Regions from separate parts of the Homo sapiens genome. Here all the other regions are linked to region 2. Evidence: promoter capture Hi-C in human tissues and cell types (Jung and others, 2019). All regions are on one chromosome and are shown on one strand. The core of a region is centred on a gene start or on the middle of the fragment in contact, and the rest is flanking DNA. Distances in the headings are between cores, read along the strand shown. Region 1 overlaps CYP3A43 (cytochrome P450 family 3 subfamily A member 43). Region 2 holds the start of CYP3A7 (cytochrome P450 family 3 subfamily A member 7). Region 3 overlaps CYP3A5 (cytochrome P450 family 3 subfamily A member 5).

What was found. Contacts are between HindIII fragments. The study calls those that stand out against the background at their distance.
Region 1: a contact is called between a fragment that was not itself captured here and the fragment with the promoter of CYP3A7 in region 2, in 2 of the 25 tissues and cell types used here (dorsolateral prefrontal cortex and pancreas).
Region 3: a contact is called between a fragment that was not itself captured here and the fragment with the promoter of CYP3A7 in region 2, in 2 of the 25 tissues and cell types used here (mesendoderm cells and ovary).

Annotation. Positions count from the first base shown.
Region 1 is chr7:99,861,029-99,864,764 of GRCh38, reverse strand. CYP3A43 (cytochrome P450 family 3 subfamily A member 43) reads right to left here. Exons shown (of 13, transcript NM_057095.3): 11 at 2,926-3,152; 12 at 1,066-1,228. Among named protein-coding and RNA genes, the nearest start is that of OR2AE1, 14 kb to the left of the region's middle. The HindIII fragment of the contact is 4,373 bases long and covers 53-3,736 here.
Region 2 is chr7:99,733,786-99,737,420 of GRCh38, reverse strand. CYP3A7 (cytochrome P450 family 3 subfamily A member 7) reads left to right here and starts at 2,225. Exons shown (of 13, transcript NM_000765.5): 1 at 2,225-2,398. The coding sequence starts at 2,328. It overlaps CYP3A7-CYP3A51P (CYP3A7-CYP3A51P readthrough), which reads left to right and starts at 2,225. Exons shown (of 15, transcript NM_001256497.3): 1 at 2,225-2,398. The coding sequence starts at 2,328. It also overlaps a transcript of ZSCAN25 not described here. RefSeq lists enhancers at 757-768, 1-1,065, 2,050-2,080 and promoters at 2,086-2,328, 1-2,328. The HindIII fragment of the contact is 8,535 bases long and covers 1-3,635 here.
Region 3 is chr7:99,645,787-99,649,410 of GRCh38, reverse strand. CYP3A5 (cytochrome P450 family 3 subfamily A member 5) reads left to right here. Exons shown (of 13, transcript NM_000777.5): 13 at 1,011-1,217. The coding sequence ends at 1,106. It also overlaps a transcript of ZSCAN25 not described here. Among named protein-coding and RNA genes, the nearest start is that of ZSCAN25, 31 kb to the right of the region's middle. The HindIII fragment of the contact is 7,540 bases long and covers 1-3,624 here.

The sequences.
Region 1 (3,736 bases), core at 990-3,489, 130 kb before region 2:
AAAACTTGTATCCAAGAACTCCAAATCAACTGAAACTCACTCCTTAAACATGTGTGGAATGCCTGCAATGGATAATGTCCTCTGCAAGACACTATTGGACTTTTATGAAAGAATTAAAACAAAACAACATAAATGGGGCAGAGAGGAGAAATTCTTAGAATAGAGAAAAGACTTGTAGAATAAAACTGAGTGGTTTAATGAAAAGTATAAGATTAGGTGATGATAACAGCCTGCAATAAACAGTAACAAAGCAGAAGAATAACTGGCCCTGTACTCGATGGGGAAGGTTTCTTAGAGTGGCTTGGGGAATTGATGTAGGACTTGTGGGATAGGAACATAATGAGAAGGAAAAGAAGAACATTCATAGAGCTATTATTGGGTTGAAAAGATGCACAGCTTGTATGAAGCAGCGAAGCAGTGCTCCTGGAAGATAAGGTCAAATGGTCAGGATGGCCTTGGACTGTAAGTATCTTTTCTATCTGGCAGAAATGCCTTAAATTAGTGATTCCCAACATTGGCTTCACATGAGGACCAATGGGAGAGCTTTTAAAGCCACAACTCTGGGCAAATTAGTTTAGAATTTGTGAGATGATCCAGGCATCATGAATTTTTGAAGCTCCCCAGTGATTCCAATGTACAGCTAGTGGTTGAGAAACACTGTCATGAGAAAGCTTCTGCAAGTTCTAGTGAGTTCTAGTGGAGGAGAGCACCATTCGAAAGTCCTGACAAAGTAATCATTGCACTTCATGATTGTGCAAAAGACTTCCTCATCTTTACAGTTGACATGAAACTGAATTTAAAATTTGCTCAAGTTCACAGAGACTGAACATAATTATACCATGCTAATCTATATTGACATTAGATGATCTTTATAGTTCTGTCTTTACAAAGCCACAGATTTTGAACTCCAGAAGTGATTCATCTTTAAGCATTATGGATAGCTCCAATTAGATTCTTTGTCCTACAGAGCAAATTATTGAAAAATGAACAATAATTTTTAAAAAATGTAGACTTCTCAGTTTAAAAAACTCCCAATAAACATTATTTATAAGAAAGTTTACTGACCTGAGTCTCTTTACAAGGTTTGAAGGAGAAGTTCTGCAGTGCTCTAATGACAGCAAGTTTTATGTTTGTGAGAGCAAACCTCATGCCAATGCAGTTTCGGGGTCCAGCTCCAAAAGGTATGTATCTGTAAAGATCTATGCTGTCCTTGTTCTTCTTACTGAACCTACTTTCACAGTAGTACATAAAAACTAGTTAATGAAACATAAAAACTATTAAAACTACACGTTATGCAGGGTGTGGTGGCTTTTGGGAGGCGAGGACCTCCTTGGCCTCCCAAAGTGTTGGGATTACAGGTGTTAGCCACCACACCTGGCCGGCTATACAATTTTTGAAGGTTAAACCCATGTTTATTCAAATTTGATTCCTCAATATTTGATTATATTGTGAAAAAATTTTGATGGAGGAAAGTGATAATGCCCTTGTGGTTATGTGTTTTTAAAAGACTACTTATATTTTAGAGAAAATTCTGAAATATTTACAGGTTATTTCTTCAAGATAACATTGTAGTCACAGAGAGGATTGTGGTGGTGTGTGGACAGGGAAGCTGACATGCAGCATTGACTACTGAGACAGGTGATGAACACAGGGGGATGCATTAATACTGTTCTATAGCCTGGTGTCTATAGAATATAGTTATGTGTATGTCAAACATTCTTCACAACAGACTTTTTTTAGTATATGGATTTCTCACTGCCTGGCCCAGTTCCTGACACACGGTAACCACTTACTATCTGTTTGGTGACTGAATGATGCAAAGAGAAGTACAATGAGTGGTCTCTGATTTTGTGTTGGTGCAGCCACAGGAGGTGGAAGTGCCAAGATGGAGGAAACACAGAAGTCCTCTACTCCAGAAAACAGAGAAATTGGTCAATTCTGACTTGCTCTTCCAACAAGTATTATGTACAGAGTCTGTGCCAGCAGTAGAGACAGCATGCCTAACAAGACAAGGTCCCTGCCATTGGGAAGTTTATAGTTAGGGGCCAATAAAAGTCTAGATCCCAGGCCTCACCAGCCAGTGCCCTACAAAGTTCATTCCAAATTTTCCTTTCCAAAATGGGAAAATATCAACTATTTCCAGAGTGCAAATTGTGCCCAAAGCTTGACCTTGGCTCTGAATTCCCAGAATATCATGCCCAACACTTCCAAGGAAGAACTTCTGAGAAGTCTAGAAAGCAGGTGACTTTGCTTTGGAAGAGTCATCAACAACTGAGAGTACAAGGGAGCCGGCACAGGACTGCAGACACAAACAGGACCAGGAGAACCTCTGCTTCCCTCTGTCCTCAATGAAGTGGCTTAAACCATCAGGGATGAGGATGTCTCAGGATCTCAGCCTGCACTTTCACAGTTACATTACGGAAAACAGCAAGCAATGTTGAAAGAAAAAGGAATGTGGAAACATGTCCTAAACGTGGTGCTAAATTCAGAGAGCTAAAGGGCACAGCAAAGAAAAACTGAAATGAATAACAAGCTTATATACTCAAAATAACATTATGGTGAAATGAATTATAGCTTATGCATATAGAAATATGTAGTAACGTAAGATAGTAGATAGGTAATGGTTTACTTTGAAATGAAGTAAGCAGCAGTTCAAACTCAAATAAAATGTGATAGTATACTAGTTTTTAAAAATGTCTATGCATAGAAAAATGCCTACAAGACAGGCATTACATAGTTAATGAGGGTTGTTATAAGGTGTTTCTTAATCTATGGTTTGTAAAGTTTAACAGTTATCATTTTGTAATAAAAAACTTCCAAAATGAAAAGGCACATATTCAAATGATTGCCATGTGCATCGAGAGAGGCAGAATATACTTGAATCAGGCTGGTTGAGGGAAGGCTCCTTTCCCAGGGGCCTTGTACCTTTCAGGGCAGAACTTCTCAGGCTCTGTCCAGTACTTTGGGTCATGGTGAAGAGCATAGATTGGAACCATCACTGCTAACCCTTTGGGAATGAACACTCCATTGATTTCAATATCTTTCTTGCAGACTCTCGTAACTCTACTAACAACTGGGAATAATCTGAGCGTTTCATTCACCACCATGTCAAGGTACTCCATCTGTACCAGGGCATCGTAGGTGACAGGTGCCTGGGAAGAAAGAAACAGATTTGGATAAATTGAGATTGGGAATTAACTTTCAACTTAGTCCATGCAGTACTATTGAAGTGTTAGGAGCTCCAGAGAATAATTCATTCTGGTAAAAGATTGTTGCATTTATAAATTATTTTAATAATTCTCCATACCCAGTGATGTGCTCGATGGCCCATTGAGATGTGTGGAGGAGTTATGAATTTGGCACAATCACTTACACAGAGACTGAAATCCTTGACATTACCATTTCGTGTTTTTTCTTTCTTGGGAGAACAAACATGACTAATAGACGATGGCCATTTGAATCACCTAAAATATGCCAAAGCCAGTGTCACCTTTCCAAAGAGAGGCTATGCATCTGTACCAAGGAAAAAGAAAATGTAAAAAGCAAATCCTCTATTTCATACAAGCATTTAAAATGGAAAAGTCCTGTTTAGGCCAGGCATGGTGGCTCATGCCTATAATCCCAACACTTTGGGAGGCCAAGGTGGGTGGATCACTTGAGGTCAGGAGTTTGAGACCAGCCTGGCCAACATGGTGAAACCCTGTGTCTACTAAAACTATAAAAATTAGCCGGGCAT
Region 2 (3,635 bases), core at 976-3,475:
TTTGTTCTAGAAAACCCAGGGGGTGCCACTGGGAGTAACCCTTGAGACAGGAACACGAATCTCAACCAATTTCTGGTTGCAGCCTTGAGTCTTACTATTTGCCATAGTGATGCTTAGCAAGGAATGGCAGGTGCACCAGAGCAGCAGAGGACCTAATATCTCCCTTCCTGTTAACTTTTTATAATATTTTATTGTGATCAGTATCAGTTGGGAAGCTACTTGCAGTCACTGAGCCTCAGTTTCTACATCTGTAAACTGGGGATAGTAGCATGGCCCTATTTAATGTGCTCAGCGAAGCCACTGAAAGGAGACAGAAATGTACCAGAATTCCCTGGACTTTTATCCTACTTCTCCTGGGGATTGTCACCCACCTACCCGTGTCTGTCCTTTGTTGCTTTGACGCTGTCACTTCTTTTCTTAGGTACCTCTCTGTAGGGCTCCATTATTCCAGGGATTCCAGAGTTACAGCACATGCATACCTCCATCCAAGCATGTTTATTTGTCTCCTGCTTCACTAGGCTGTCCCCAAGGAACATGTGGCTCCCGGCACATACCTGGCACAACACTGCACATGACATTCACCCACTTGGCCTTGAATCTGACAAGGAATCTGGCATGATGTTCACCTGCTGAGGCCAGGTGCCGAGCAGCCCTGGAGGCTTAGGGGCCAGAGGGATGGGAAAAGGTGTCTTTCTGGGGTGAGTATCAGTTTCTGCAGGAGTGCTGAACCTGAGAAAGAATAAAGAGAGAAGGAAGTGAACAAGCACAGCTTAAACATCATCTGTTTCTACTGAGTTTTAACAACTCTGAGATTTTGTTTGTCATGGAATCCATTTCTCAGGCCAAGCAGACACAGAACTTGGGTGTGAGTGATGATAATGAGCTGATATAATTTTCACACCCTCATCACTGAGATCTCTCCCATCAGGAATGGGTCACAGGGCTCACAGGTGGCAGCAACTGTTATTACAGGCCTCATCTCTACCAGCTCCTGGCACCTGCTCTCCTCCCATTAGAAAATCCTCCACTTGTCAAAAAGGAAGCCATTTGCTTTGAATTCCAATTCCACCCTCAAGAGGCTGGGACCACCTCATTGGAGTCCTTGATGCTGTGTGACCTGCAGTGACCACTGCCCCATTGTTGCTGGCTGAGGTGGTTTGGGTCAACCTGGCCATCTGGGCAGCTGTTCTCTTCTCTTCTTTCTCCCCTACTGTTTCCAGACATGCAGTATTTCCAGAGAGAAGGGGCCACTCTTTGGCAAAGAACCTGTCTAACTTTCTATCTACGGCAGGACTTTTGAAAGCTACAGAGGAAGAAGCACAAATTGATGCTATTCCACTAAGCCATCAGCTCCATCTCATCCATGCCATGTCTCTTTTTTAGGGGTCCTCTTGCCAACAGAATCACAGAGGACAAATCTGAAAGTGCAGAGACAGCAGCTGAGGCACAGCCAAGAGCTCTGGCTGTATTAATGACCTAAGAAGATGGAGTGGTCACCAGAAAGTCAGAGGAAGTGACACACAGGGGCCCAGCAATCTCAGCCAAGTCAACTCCACCAGCCTTTCTGGTCCCCACTGTGTGTACAGCACCCTGATAGGGACCAGAGCCATGAGAGTGAGTAAGACCAGACTATGCCCTTGAGGAGCTCACCTCTGCTAAGGGAAACAGGCCTGGAAACACACAATGGTGGTAAAGAGGAAAGAAGACAATAGAACTGCATGAAGGGGATGGAAAGTGCCCAGGGGAGGAAATGGTTACTTCTGTGTGAGGGGGTTGGTGAGGAAAGACTCTAAGAGAAGGCTCTGTCTGGCTGGGTATGAAAGGATGTGTAGGAGTCTTCTAGGGGGCACAGGCACACTCCAGGCATAGGTAAAGATCTGTAGGCATGGCTTGTTGGGATGAGTTTCAAGTATTCTGGAATGAGGACAGCCATAGAGACAAGAGGAGAGTTAATAGATTTTATGCCAATGGCTCCACTTGAGTTTGTGATAAGAACCCAGAACCCTTGGACTCCCCAGTAACATTGATTGAGTTGTGTATGATTCTACATAGAATATTAACTCAATGGAGGTCAGTGAGTGGTGTGTGTGTGATTATTTGCCAACTGCCGAGGTGGAGAAGCCTCTTCCGACTGCAGGCAGAGCACGGGGGCCCTGCTACTGGCTGCAGCTCCAGCCCTGCCTCCTTCTCCAGCATATAAACAATCCAACAGCCTCACTGAATCACTGCTGTGCAGGGCAGGAAAGCTCCACACACACAGCCCAGCAAACAGCAGCACGCTGCTGAAAAAAAGACTCAGAGGAGAGAGATAAGGAAGGAAAGTAGTGATGGATCTCATCCCAAACTTGGCCGTGGAAACCTGGCTTCTCCTGGCTGTCAGCCTGATACTCCTCTATCTGTGAGTAACTGTTCAGGCTCCTCTTCTCTGTTTCCTTGGACTTGGGGTGCTAATCAGGCCTCTCTTTCCCTTATCTGTTTTGAATAGCAAAAAGGATGTTCAGGCTGGCCGTGGTGGCTCACACCTGTCATCCCAGAACTTTGGGATGCTGAGCAGGTGGACTGCCTGAGGTCAGGAGTTCAAGACCAGCCTGGCTAATATGGTGAAACCCCATCTCTACTAAAATTACAAAAATTAGCTGGGCATGGTAGTGCATAACTGTAGTCCCAGCTACTTGGGTGGCTGAGGCAGGAGAATTGCTTGAACCTGGGAGGCGGAGGTTGCAGTGAACTGAGATCATGCCACTGCACTCCAGCCTGGGTAACAGAGTGAGATTCCATCTCAAAAAAAAAAAAAGAGAAAAAAAAGAAAAAAAAAGATTTTCAAGGAGAAGTAGCTTAAGTGTTGGATGCTACAAACATATAGAGGTTATGATGGATGTTTTGCAGATCTATAAAGGAATAAATAAGCATCTCCCCCATTCATCTTTAGTGGAAAGAAGGGTTTAGGGACAGCATTGATTGAGGATAATCTAATAGACAATGGTTTGTACCCAGCTTACCAAACCAGAATTTGGATTTTACATTTTTCCCTTTAAGTTGCAGGAGAAGAGGGTGAATCTTCTCACCAGTGAGATCCTGGCATCCTAGAGCAGGTGGAGAGAAGAGTCACTCCCTACTGTGTGTACTGGAGGCTTCCCGCCTGTCACATTTTACTTCTAACTCAATTTCACAGTTATTAAGAGTAAGGAATCATGGTCACATGGAAACAGAAAATACAAACCTCGTTTTAATTCTTTCACAGAAAAGTTAGCAATTCAGTGAGTTGTGGTAACATAGTTTCCATCTACTGGCAATTTAACATGAATTGGTGTGGCTTAAATTCATCCTTTTTAAAGCCAGATTTTTTTGGAGATAGACTATTTCCAGCATGTTCCTTCTGAGTGATAAAAGAGGGCTATTAGTTCAGTATTTGTGACAATAAATGTGTATAAGATAACCTCACCTTTCCAGAATAATGTCAGGAATATGAGTCTAATGTACAAATATATATCTCTAGGACAAGACTGCATATGTCTTTTTAAAAATACTTTCCCAAGAGTTTATTTTAATACCCCCATTTCAAATACACCTGCTTAGCAGGTTATCCTAAACTCTCAGGGCTAGAAAGTAAGCAAGACTGTGAGCCAGTGATGATA
Region 3 (3,624 bases), core at 848-3,347, 88 kb after region 2:
AAGAAGTTAAAGAACAGATGTCATTGATTCATATTAAGCAATAGCCTATAAGTCTTATTTCCAGGACCGGTGTATTTAATATGCAACTCTACCCCTTAAGTACACTTTGTGCTTGGGAGAGGAGGAGGATGGAGATGGTTGCCATCTTATCTATGGCTTCAGGGCAGCTGTGTAGCTTTCCTATGTGTGTATTCAGGCAGGGGGCTCAGCCCTGAGAGAAAGTGGGCCTCTGGCACACCTGGGACAGGGAAGATATTCCCTGGCAAGCTCTCAGGCATCTCAGGCTGGCACTTCTTTGTATCCATGGCAATTTGCTTTCCCCTCACTGAACTGAGATCAGAATGTTACTCTGTTGGTGGCTCCCCCAACAGTGAAGGGGTGACTCAGTGACAATAGTGCTAGAAGTATGAGTCAAAACACTGTACAACTTGAGAAATTCCCCGTTTGCACTACGCTTGGAAGCCAAGAGGAGATGTTAAAAAGAAAAGAATAATTCTTTCTGAAGACATTTCCCATCATTGCACTTGATGGGTTCAACTGGGAAGGGTTACTAGACTCTGGAAGTTGAAAACTGCCCACATAATTAAACTGTACAACAGCTACTCAGGATTACCTTGCAAGTTTTAACCTATAAAAATTTAACTTTATATAGCACTTCCAAAATAGTTTGCCATAATACCTACTAATCTGGATTTAATTTTTAAAACTCATCCTTTTAACTTAAGATTTAAATAAAAAAAAAAAAACACGAGTCCACAAGAATTTGTCTCAGGCCTGGCACAGAGTCAGTGCTCCATAAATATTTTGTTAAACGATGGATGGTGAGTGCTTTTACTATCCAGTATTTACCCAGCTTATAGATTAAGTATGAAGAGTTCAAGATACATGGTGTTAAGAGTCGTTTTTATATGCTTGCAAAGCATTTTTGTCATATTTTTTCTACTTTGCTTCCATCTTTTCTTCTTTCACTTCATTTATTAATTCTCCATATGCTTGTTTAACTATTGTAGATCCCCTTGAAATTAGACACGCAAGGACTTCTTCAACCAGAAAAACCCATTGTTCTAAAGGTGGATTCAAGAGATGGAACCCTAAGTGGAGAATGAGTTATTCTAAGGATTTCTACTTTGGTCTTCAAGAAAGCTGTGCCCCAGAACACCAGAGATTTCAACTTAGTCAATAAAACCTTGAAATAAAGATGGGCTTAATCTAATGTACTGCATGAGTAGTTGGTGATTTTGTACATTCATTGAGCTCTCCCAGAGTCTGTGTAGAGTGTTGTGCATTATGTAGTATAAAGGAGGTGACCAGGTAAGTGACAGATAGGTAGACTCAGCTTCTCTGCTTCTCATAGGACTACCTCTACCCACCTCTAGTTAGCATTATCAACTCCTCCTGAGCTCTCATCAGAGAATAAATATTTCTCAACAATTTGATCCATAACTTTTAAGAAAAATAAGAATTATCATGATGACTCTAATAGTGACATTTATATCACGTTTTATTTGTAATATTCTATAAGTTTTATATTAAGCGAAGTGATAAAATCCCCTTTACAAAAATATTATCTGATGCCATCCTGCACACTAAAGAGAAATCTATAGAACTGAATGACTGAAAACCAGCAAATAAACATTTTTTATCATTGTAATCACTGTTGGTGTGGGGCCTTTGTCAGAATTCCAATTTGATTATTAACATAGGTGAGAGTTAATCTGCTGTGACTTTGCCCATTGTTTGGAGAAAATATTCATAGTTTCATTCTGCCTTCTTTGAAGAACATATTTTTTGTAACACTCAACGAAGCACTTATCATATTATTAGTTATGATTTATTATTTTTACCACATCTCCCCTGACATTTCTGGAACACAGGAAACATGTTTTCTTATACGTCTTGCATTCCATCTTCACCTCCCAATTGTCTTAATGCAATGAACACTGAATAAAAAATTGTCAATTCGTCAGTTGATTGGGCAGCATGTCTAAAAGCACTATTCATTTTCCTTTTTTATTCTTTCATTTTCCCTCCTTTTCTGAATACTAAAGCCATTAGGTGGGTTGCAGCCATGTGGTAGCCACACATTAAGGTGGACAAGAGAGTCATGGTGGCTCCAAGTCAGATTCCAAGTGTGCTGGGGAAGGCATCCACATGGAGGGGCAGCCTGACCTGGAAGCGGGAGCCCAAGCAATCAGAGAAGGGGTCCACACAGAGGTGTGGCCTTCAAGAGCAGCCAGAGCCTAAATAGGGCCTGGAGAACCCACGTGAGGTGAGGAGGGTATCCCTGAGTGGGAAGGGATGGGTGAGAGTTGGCTACATAGAAGGGATTGATCACATAAGTAAATAAAGTATACTGGAAGCTAGGTGTGTCACTTTTGCAGAAAAGAGTCATAGATTCAGAAAGGGAGAAAGCTAGCATTAATCCTATGGTGTTAGATTGGAATGGATGTATCAGTGTACATTCATACTTTTCTAGATAGATAGATGGATAGATAGACAGATGATAGATAGATAATAGATAGTTGATAGATAATTAGATGTAAATATATGTGTTTGTATGTGTGAGCATGCATGTGTGTGTGTGTGTGTGTGTGTGTGTGTGTGTGTGTGTGTATAAAACATATATTCCCTACTTCACTGATAGGGCTAGATAACAATGACATTTCAATAGCAATGAGTATACTTAGTGCCTAGATCTTGGCTTATGAATATCATTTTCCACTGAAGGGAACCAGAGCTCGTTAGAGAAATAGCTGATGCCAGGGCTAGGACTAAAAATGTTCAAGATGAGCCCAGGACACTTTTTGTGCCAGGAAGTAAGAAAACACTCAAATGGTTTCTAAATGGTATTTGGAAATGATTTCTAAATGATATTTCCATATGACTTCCAAATGATATTTTAAAAACCTAAAGACTCCACCAAAGAACTATTAGAACTGATAAACAAATTCAGTAAATTTGCAGGATACAAAATCAACGTACAAAATTGGTAGCACTTCTATATGCCAGCAAGGAACAATCTGAAATAAAATCAATAGCCACAAATAAAATTAAATACCTAGGAATTAACTTAATCAAAGAAGTGAAAGATCTCTACAATGAAAACTATAAAACACCGATGAAAGAAATTGAAGAGGACACAAAAACATAGAAAGATATTCCATGTTTATATATTTCAAGAATCAATATTGTTAAAAATGCCCACAATACCCAAAGCAATATATGGATTCAATGCAATCCCTATCAAAATACCAATGACATTCTTCACAGAAATATTTTTTTAATCCTAAAATTTGTATGGATTCACAAAAGACCAAGAAGAGCCAAAGCTAACATCAGCAAAAAGAACAAAACTGGAGGAAACACATTTACCTGACTTCAAAGTATACTACAGAGCTATAGTAACCAAAACAGCCTGGTACTGGTATAAAAACAGACACATAGACCAATGGAACAGAATAGAGACCCCAGTAACAAATCTACACATCTACAGTGAACTCATTTTTGACAAAGGTGCCAAGAACACAGACTGGGGAAAAGAAATGCAAACTATACATCCAACAAAGGTCTAATAGCCAACATCTATAAAGAACTTAAATGTACAAGAAAAAAAAATTAAAAAAT